Linked DNA regions of Homo sapiens: region 1 is linked to region 2. The links are contacts of gene promoters, found by promoter capture Hi-C in blood cells and fetal thymus (Javierre and others, 2016). All regions are on one chromosome and are shown on one strand. Each heading gives the region's core, a stretch centred on a gene start or on the middle of the fragment in contact. The rest is flanking DNA. Distances are from core to core; before and after follow the strand shown.

Region 1 (4,314 bases), core at 918-3,417, 110 kb before region 2:
CCCACCCCACACCATCTGGCCTGGACTCACAACTCAAATCAGGTCATTCTGTGCCAGCCTCCGTGACCCGAGGGAGCCAGGCCACAGCTGACAGGAAGGCAGAAGGTGGCAGGAGGGGAGGTTGCGCTGCACCTCTGGGTTGCCCAGGCCAACCTGCCAGGCAGGAGGGGGAAGCCCGTGCCCACTTTACCATGACCGGGAAGATGATGGCAGCCACCGTGGATTTGAGGATCCAGAGCACCGCCAGGCAGAGGATCTGCACCAGGGTGAAGAGGTGGATCCGGCGCAGCGGCACGTGCCGCAGGAAGGCATGGTCCGGCTGGTGCTTGGCTGGCATCAGGAAGAGCTTGCAGCGTTCCCAGAACTAGGGGGACAGCGGGGGCTCAGCCAGGCAGCCAGACCCCGAGGGCCCGCTGGGTCCTGGGACTAGGGGAAGGGGTGCCTGGGTGGGGTCTCAGAGAGGGGAAGCCCCCTGCTCAGGCCTTAAGGATGCACGGGAGGGGGGCTGGAGGTGTCTAGGCGGATGCATAATGGGGTCTTAGAGAAAGGGTCCTGAGCCCTGGGTGAGGGGAGGAGCCCTGGAGCTGGCCACAAAATGGACATTGTCCATATTCAGGGAAAGTGCAAGTTAATTGTAACACAAACTGTTTAAGAATTCTGGGATTTCACAGTAAATACAGAACAAAACAAAAATGTTTTCTTCTGCATAGCTGCCTTAGGGAAGAGAGAGAGGTACAGTGAAATGCTCACTGGAGTCAGCTTCTTCTGGATTTTGAATTCTGACCCTCCGGTCCCCATCTGTAAAATGGGGATCAGAGGACCTAATTACATAGATTCAATTATATGAGGCCTATGAAGTGCCTAACATATTTATTTTGCCTGATAGCATCAGTAAGTGGTAGTATCATTATTACTATTATTCTTTCATTGAATTAGGACAATTGGGGACAATTGGGACAACTGAATTGGGGGTCTTGGTGACATGGAACCAGACATGGAATGTTGACTCCAGATCATGAAGGGATCTGGAGGGAAAGCCTTACCTGGATGCCATTCAGGGAGGCCACGCCCATGTAGAGGAAGACTCCGTACAGCACCGGCAGGGGGATACACTAAAATGAGAGCAGAGCTTTGGATCGGCCTCTGCCTGGGGCGGCCCTTGGCCACCCTGTTCTGGATGACAGTGGCTCCTGACCACAGAGGCAGCTAGGAAACTGGATATTTGGGGGAACAGAGAGTCAGCAGAACTGGGATGTGGGCAGGGGTGAAGATGAGGGTCACTGGGGCTGTACTGCCCCTTCTCTGGCTGGGGTAGCTGGCCCAGCATGCAGCTGCTCTCCTGGCCTGGCCCCTCACTGCACCGTGCGGAGGCCATGTGGTCTGGCTAAAGAAATGCCTTCTGGAAAGTGAGAAGACTCCACAGACTGCCCCCTCCTCATTCCTGCCCAGCTTCTTCCTACCTCCAGCCTCAGCTGAGGGTCCCCTAAAACTGCTCAGCCTGCAGGGGCATGGGGACTTTTAATGAGCTGATCTACATCAGCAGCGAGTACCCGGGACACTTAACAGAAATCACGCATCCGGCCGGGTGTGGTGGCTCACACCTGTAGTCCTAGCACTTTGGGAGGCCAAGGCAGGTGGATGACCTGAGGTCAGGAGTTTGAGACCAGCCTGGCCAACATGGTGAAACCCCGTCTCTACTAAAAATACAAAAAAATTAGCCAGGCGTGGTGGCACATGCCTGTAATCCCAGCAACTCAGGATGCTGAGGCAGAAGAATCGCTTGAATCCGGGAGATGGAGGTTGCGGTGAGCTGAGATCGTGCTACTGAACTCCAGCCTGGGCGAAAGAGACTCTGTCTCAAAAAAACCAAACAAAGCAAACAAACAAACCCCCCCGCCCCCCAAAAAAACCAAAAAAAAACAGAAATCATGCCTCATACGCAATCACATACAAAAGAAGCAGAACAAAAGTGTGTAAACTAATCAGCACTCATCACCAACTAACCACCAATAGTTTGGCGGGTATCCTTCCCTCCAAACTTGCACACAGGCAATTTGTTTGCTTTTTCAAAAATGGGATCATAGAATTCATCCCACTCTACAAGAATGATTCCAAATCTTCACAGCCTTTCAAAGCATTCTTCCGCTGTCTCTCTCAGCTGTTTCTGCCCCTTACCTTCTCTCTTTCACCTGCAGCTGTGGCTCCCCATGGTGAGCAGAGGCTGTTCCTCCTTGTGGTCATGTTAGAGCACTCCGGAGAGCACAGAGCACTATGCCAACACTAGGAGGGCTTTAGAGGAATTTTTTGCCCCTAAAGAAGTCTGTTCTTAGATTTGAGCTTTTTTTTTTTTCTTGAGACAGAGTCTCGATATGTTGGCCATTCTGGTCTCAAACTATTGTTCTCAAGTGATCCTCCCACCTCGGCCTCCCAAAGTGTTAGGATTACAGACATGGGCCACCATGCCTGGCCGATTCGAAGGTGTTTTTTTTTTTTGGGGGGGGCACGGAGTCTCACTCTGTCTTGCCCAGGCTGGAGTGCAGTGGTGCAATCTCGGCTCACTGCAGCCTCCACCTCCCGGGCTCAACCAATTCTCCCGTCTCAGCCTCCTGAGTAGCTGGGACTACAGGCATGTGCCACCATACCTGGCTATTTTTGTATTTTTAGTAGACACAGGGTTTCGGGTTTCACCATGTTGGCCAGGCTGGTCTTGAACTCCTGACCTTAGGTGATCCACCTGCCTCGGCCTCCCAAAGTGCTGGGATTACAGGCTTGAGCCACCACACCCAGCCTGATTCGAGCTTTTTAATGCAAATACTTGTATGTTAAACAGTGTCAAAATTGACATACACAATGGCACCTTAGAACCCTCTCTACAAAAGTAAGTAGTCCCTGGCCATTTAAAATATATTTTTCAATAAACAAAATGCTTGCCCTCCTGTGTGTAATTTGTTTCCCCCACAAGGGAAATATCCCTTAAAAAATGCCAGCCTCCTACTTACTGCTCGGGTATGCCCAGCACCAATTCTCAAGCCAGAAATATTTTCCATTGTAAATACATCAGCCAGAATCATCATTCTTTAGCGTTTGTTTCTTACAAGGTCACCTCTGAATGAGGTTTTTTTTTTTTTTTTTTGAGAAGAGGTCTCACTCTGTTGCCCAGGCTGGAGTGCAGTGGCATGATCATGGCTCACTGCAGCCTCGACCTCCTGGACTCAAGTGATCATGCCTCACATGTACCATCGTGCCTGGCTAATTTTTGTATTTTTTGTAGAGATGGGGGTCTTGCTATGTTGCCCAGGCTGGTCTCAAGTGATCCTCCCACCTCGGCCTCCCAAAGTCCTGGGATTACAGGCATGAGCCACCATGCCTGGTCATGAGCTGTTTTGAGATATTCAAAGAGGAAAAATAATATCGGCAAAAGGTTGAGGCAATTACAGGTAAACTTAATTCAAGAAAGGAAAGTCTTACGTGGGCACTGATCAAGGGAAAGGGAGAGTGATGGGCGATTGGCTGGAGTGGAGAGCAGGGAAGCCTGGTGGGAACACCTTGCTTTCTGGAGTCTCTCCAGAAAGAGACCCTTGTGGGGGACGCCTGCCTCCATTGTACCCCTACTTGACTTAGTCTCTTAGCTGTTGTGGTGGGACATAAGCAAGAGGAGCTTCAAGCTGTGTGGGAAAAAGTCACTCGAGTCCCCAGACTTCCTGAGCTCAGGTGATCCTCCCGCCTCAGCCTCCTGAGTAGCCGGACTACAGGGATGTACCACCATGTTTGGCCTCCTGCTGCAAGTTTTAAACTTCATGAGCCCCAAACCCTGGCAATGTGGAAACACACCCCATTCAGGAAGTTCCTGATCTAAGCAGGGCTACAACTTGGCAGAACTTTCAGAGGGAAGAGTATCCTCCAGAAAGGTGAGAGTGGCCCTGGGATGGGTGGGAGAGAGGATTGGTGATGATAAAAAACTGCAGTATCACAGAAAACGGCGGTGACAGTGTGGAAACATTGCTTTGGCCTAGTAAGACTGTGCCTTTCTTTTTCTTTTCTTTCTTTTTTTTGTTTTGAGACGGAGTTTCGCTCTTGCTGCCCAGGCTGGAGTGCAGTGGTGCGATCTTGGCTCACTGCAACCTCCACCTCCCGGGTTCAAGCCATTCTCCTGTCTCAGCCTCCCGAGTAGCTGTGATTACAGGCACGTGCCACCATGCCTGGTTAAGTTTTGTATTTTTAGTAGAGACAGGGTTTCACCATGTTGGTCAGGCTGGTCTTGAACTCCTGACCTCAGGTGATCCGCCTGCCTCGGCCTCCCAAAGTGCTGGGATT
Region 2 (3,970 bases), core at 602-3,101:
CTGAGATGGCTGCTGAGTGAATTGCTGACCAAGAGGGACTGCCCCACATCAGGCAGCCCATGCCATTACTGTGCTCACACTGTGCCCGACACAGAGCAAGGGATCATAAGTCCTGGGTGGCTTGAATTGACTCTTCCTAAAAAAAGAGTCTGTGATCTAGGAAGTCCAATATAAAAAGATGTTGCGGATTGCCCAGACTTAGAGTAAGAGGGGCAGAAATGAAGTAGGCATGGATGGTAATTTTGTTTTTCCATCAGGGCTGCTCTTACTCTGGAGTAAGGAGAGGAAGGCTAAGACACAAAAGGGGGACTCCGCCCAACCCAGCTTATGTCCTGTGATACCAGAAGGGAGCATTGCAATGACCTATTAAACCTCAAACCAAGCTGAATCCATTTCTGAGTAAGAGACTCTTACAGGGCTCCTGTCCTCAAAACTATATAAAATTGCTCAAATTATGTACTTCTGAGATAATAAATTAGCAGAAGAAGCACATAGCCCACCTCTTAAGATAGGGAAGTAGATCTGAAGTAGCTCAAGAAACAAAGTTTTCTACAGATGAAGGATGAGGGAAGGAAACCCAAGACCAGTTGATTCTGGTTTGGGAAATGATAACACTGGAGAACACACTCTACTATCTGTTTCTTGTGACATCCTTTGTGCTAAAGTTATCTCCTTTGTTGGCATGGCCACCATCCCTACTTCTAGTGCAGTGGAGATGTATGAGTGTCTCCATTGCTAAGTGTTTAGTTACTCAAGATAAACTTGACTGGAGAGGGTGTGGGCAGGCATTCAGTCAAGCAACAAGCCACTCACTGAGTGCCACCAATGGTGTGGGAAAAGATGACTCTCCTTAGACTGGTCCATCCAAAATAAAGGAGGTGGGGAGAGCATACCTGGGTGGTCTTCAGGGTACTCCTGGAAACATCCATCAGCTCATGAGCTCACAGCTGAATTCCAAATCCTGGGATGCCTGCTTGGAGGGAGGGTAAAACACCATTTCTCAGGGACAGAAGCCCACAAAGCTAAGGGCACTGGGTTTCTAAGTCAGGATTTCATCACGGCTGGATGACCCTTTTTTAAGGAAAGCCAGCTGATCTCCAGGACTCCTGATACATAAGAGCTATGCAGTCTGTCACTTCTAGGGAGAGAGATGGGGACTAGCTCTGGTTCCTCATGCGTTCCTTCCCTCTCACTCCCTAAAGACCTCAAGAAACAGATCCTTGGTAACAATGCCTTCTTTGGGCCAGAAAGCTTAGTTGAAGTGTGGATTCTTATACAAGTCTCATGTTTTCTGGACTCCTAGGAGACTCAGAGGAGACACCATAGGTAACCCTTATTGAACTGGAAGAAGTGTGAAGTACTATCAACCACTGAGACTCCCATGGCTCAAGAATATGCACAGAGGTCTAACTAGATATAGGTCTCAGCCCCTGACTTTAGAAGTCTGACATTCCACAGATATGCACACACTACACGCTCCCCTCACAGAGGAAACTGGAGTAGGGGGACACAGCAGAACAAAATCGCAACACTACTACAGGAAAACCTCGTCATTCCGTTACTTGTCCTTTGCTATGTTGGAATACTTATAGATTAGTTTCAACAATCAGGTTACTCCTTATCTTTGCTCTAAGTCTTGTACAGGCCTTTAGCAAAAAGCAATAAAATTCTCATCTGACTCTTGGTGGGCTGGGGAATCTGCCTATTCTATTCAGTTGGTTCACTCACATCTCCAAACCAGAACCTACAACCACTCTGTAACTTTATTTATGTAAAATCCACTCTACTTACCCCAGTGCAGTGGCCTGTGGCTCCTGGGCCCTGACTCCAATTCCTTTAGGGTGGACCTTGCAGTTGGAACCATCCACCTCTCGTTTTTTCTATCTCTGCTATTAACATAGCCCCTCCTCTATTGCCTCACCAACTATTTTCAAACCAAAAAGTCTTTGTCTATTCATAGCCACTGTAAAAGTAACATTCATTTTTCTGTTTTTTAATCTAATGTCTGCGTCTTCAGTGGTTCTCACTGGCTAATCTAATCAGTGTGTTCTAGGGAGGTTTATTCCTTGCCTGTTCAGCTTGTCCCAGCACAACAAAGGTAAGTCATTTGCCTGGGGAGAATCAGCTCTTTTAAATCAGACAATCCTCAGGAAAGATGTCAGGACTTTTGCCTCTTTTCTTCATGGGACTGAGATTCAGGAGAACATTCCACATTCCACTGCCACACAGCTCTGCAAACCCCAAATCCTGACTCTCCGAAGAAGGATATGGGCAAGGAAAACAAAGAAGGCATTTGAAAAAACCAAACCTTGCAAGAAAAACTTTGCGTACTTGGTGATTTTTCCAGGTTTATCCTGACTTTTGGCCTCTGTTTTTATGAATTCCATTTTTGTTTAAGTGAAAAAGATACGGTGAGAGAGACATAGTGGAAAATGGGAAGTTTGGAGGAAGATGGGAAGGAAGAAGCCAGTGAGTAGGAAGTGAGAATCGGGAGTGGAGGGAGTGAGGGACGCGGTGCTGAGCGATGGGGAAGAGAAGCATGCCAGGAAGGCGCAGCGTCTCTGGGCACCCAGCATGGGGCCTGGTATATGCACACATTTCCCCTCATTGAACTCTCAACAGTCCAGTGGGGAGAGCATTCTCGTCCCCAACCTTACAGAGCTGGAACAGAAGCTCAGAGACTTACAGACAGGAAGAAAAGTAGGAGCTGGAAGCCCCATTAAAAAAGCAACTCTACCCCTCTTCTTCCAGTCTCTTCTGTGGCTTCTCTAAGGGTCTTCAGCCTCCTTATTTCAGGGTTGACCTTCTCTTTCAGATAGGAAATTTATCATCTGGTTGGATATCCTCACTTTCTTCCTAGATCACGTGGAGTTTTCCCTTAGTGGAAAAGCCTCATTCCTGGATCTAGAGCCTGCTGGTGGCAGACATGTAAAAAACATGTTTCGGAGGCCATGCCCAAGCCAACACATTAACCCAACATTATAGTTTCTGTTAATAATCCATGGAATCAAAGACAGGCAAGACTAGGGAGATCAACACATGCTGGGTCACCAGAGGCTTTCCTGGTTTTAGCACAGAAGATCTGTGACCCAGGAAACCCCTTAGTCCCAGGAAGATCAGCACAGCCTAGGCCAGAAACAGTTTCGGGCCTTAGGGAATTTCCAGCTGGTTGGGGATTCAACAAATTCAGAAGAGTGTGAGGCTCCAAAAAGAAGCACAAAGGGAGGGAAGGGTTCAGTGAAAGAAAAATCACCCTTGTTTGGAGGATTACCTTGTTCCACAAATGTTCATGGCTTACCTACCAGCCCCATGTGTTAAAGAAAAGCTTTGTGGAGAAAATGGCCTTGGAGATGCAGTGAAGGGATAGGATAGGGGTAGGATTTAGAACAGTAGAACTACCAAGGGGTATCTGAGGCAGAGGGAAGAAGCCACAAAAAATATAGACATAAGAGGTGGGAGAACATAGCATAAATATCCTGAGAACTGGAGAGCAGTTTCCCTGGCACAGGGCAGGTTTGGGGAAATAAAGCTTTGGGCATGCGACGATAGGCTGGGTAGTCTATGGAGAGGTGTAAACATCAGCAAACATGTCTGAAGTGAAAGGAATGTGGAAGGGGACTTGGTACAAGAATGGAATAATGGACTTCACAGTGGATTGTAGCACAGGTGGAAAGACCAGTTGAGACGTTACTGCCAAGCATTCAAGTGAAACCCTTTGGTTTCTACCTACCCAGGTTTTGTTCAAATAATTTGGACATTTATTTCAGACACTTCAGGTTTGGGGTTTTTTTGTCTCTCACTTCACACAGGAATTTGAGGGTGAGCTTCATCTGGTTTGGTGAGGGTATTGGAAGGTATGGGGCAGGGGCTGTCCCTCCAGGATGCACAAAGGGAACAGGTTTGCAGGCTCAGGAATCCTCCTAATGGAGGAAGGAGGAAGGAGGGAGGAGGACCTGCCCTGGCAGCACCG

The links. The method cuts DNA at HindIII sites, captures the fragments that hold promoters and counts their contacts. A CHiCAGO score of 5 or more calls a contact.
Region 1: a contact is called between a fragment that was not itself captured here and the fragment with the promoter of SLC4A5 in region 2, in 5 of 17 cell types (naive CD4 T cells, naive CD8 T cells, total CD4 T cells and 2 more). The highest score is 6.4, in naive CD4 T cells.

Annotation. Positions count from the first base shown.
Region 1 is chr2:74,226,767-74,231,080 of GRCh38, forward strand. It overlaps SLC4A5 (solute carrier family 4 member 5), which reads right to left. Exons shown (of 31, transcript NM_133478.3): 26 at 1,044-1,112; 27 at 191-364. Among named protein-coding and RNA genes, the nearest start is that of MTHFD2, 30 kb to the left of the region's middle. RefSeq lists an enhancer at 1,336-1,836. The HindIII fragment of the contact is 4,919 bases long and covers 1-4,314 here.
Region 2 is chr2:74,341,565-74,345,534 of GRCh38, forward strand. It overlaps SLC4A5 (solute carrier family 4 member 5), which reads right to left and starts at 1,852. Exons shown (of 31, transcript NM_133478.3): 1 at 1,792-1,852; 2 at 894-970. The HindIII fragment of the contact is 2,074 bases long and covers 1,250-3,323 here.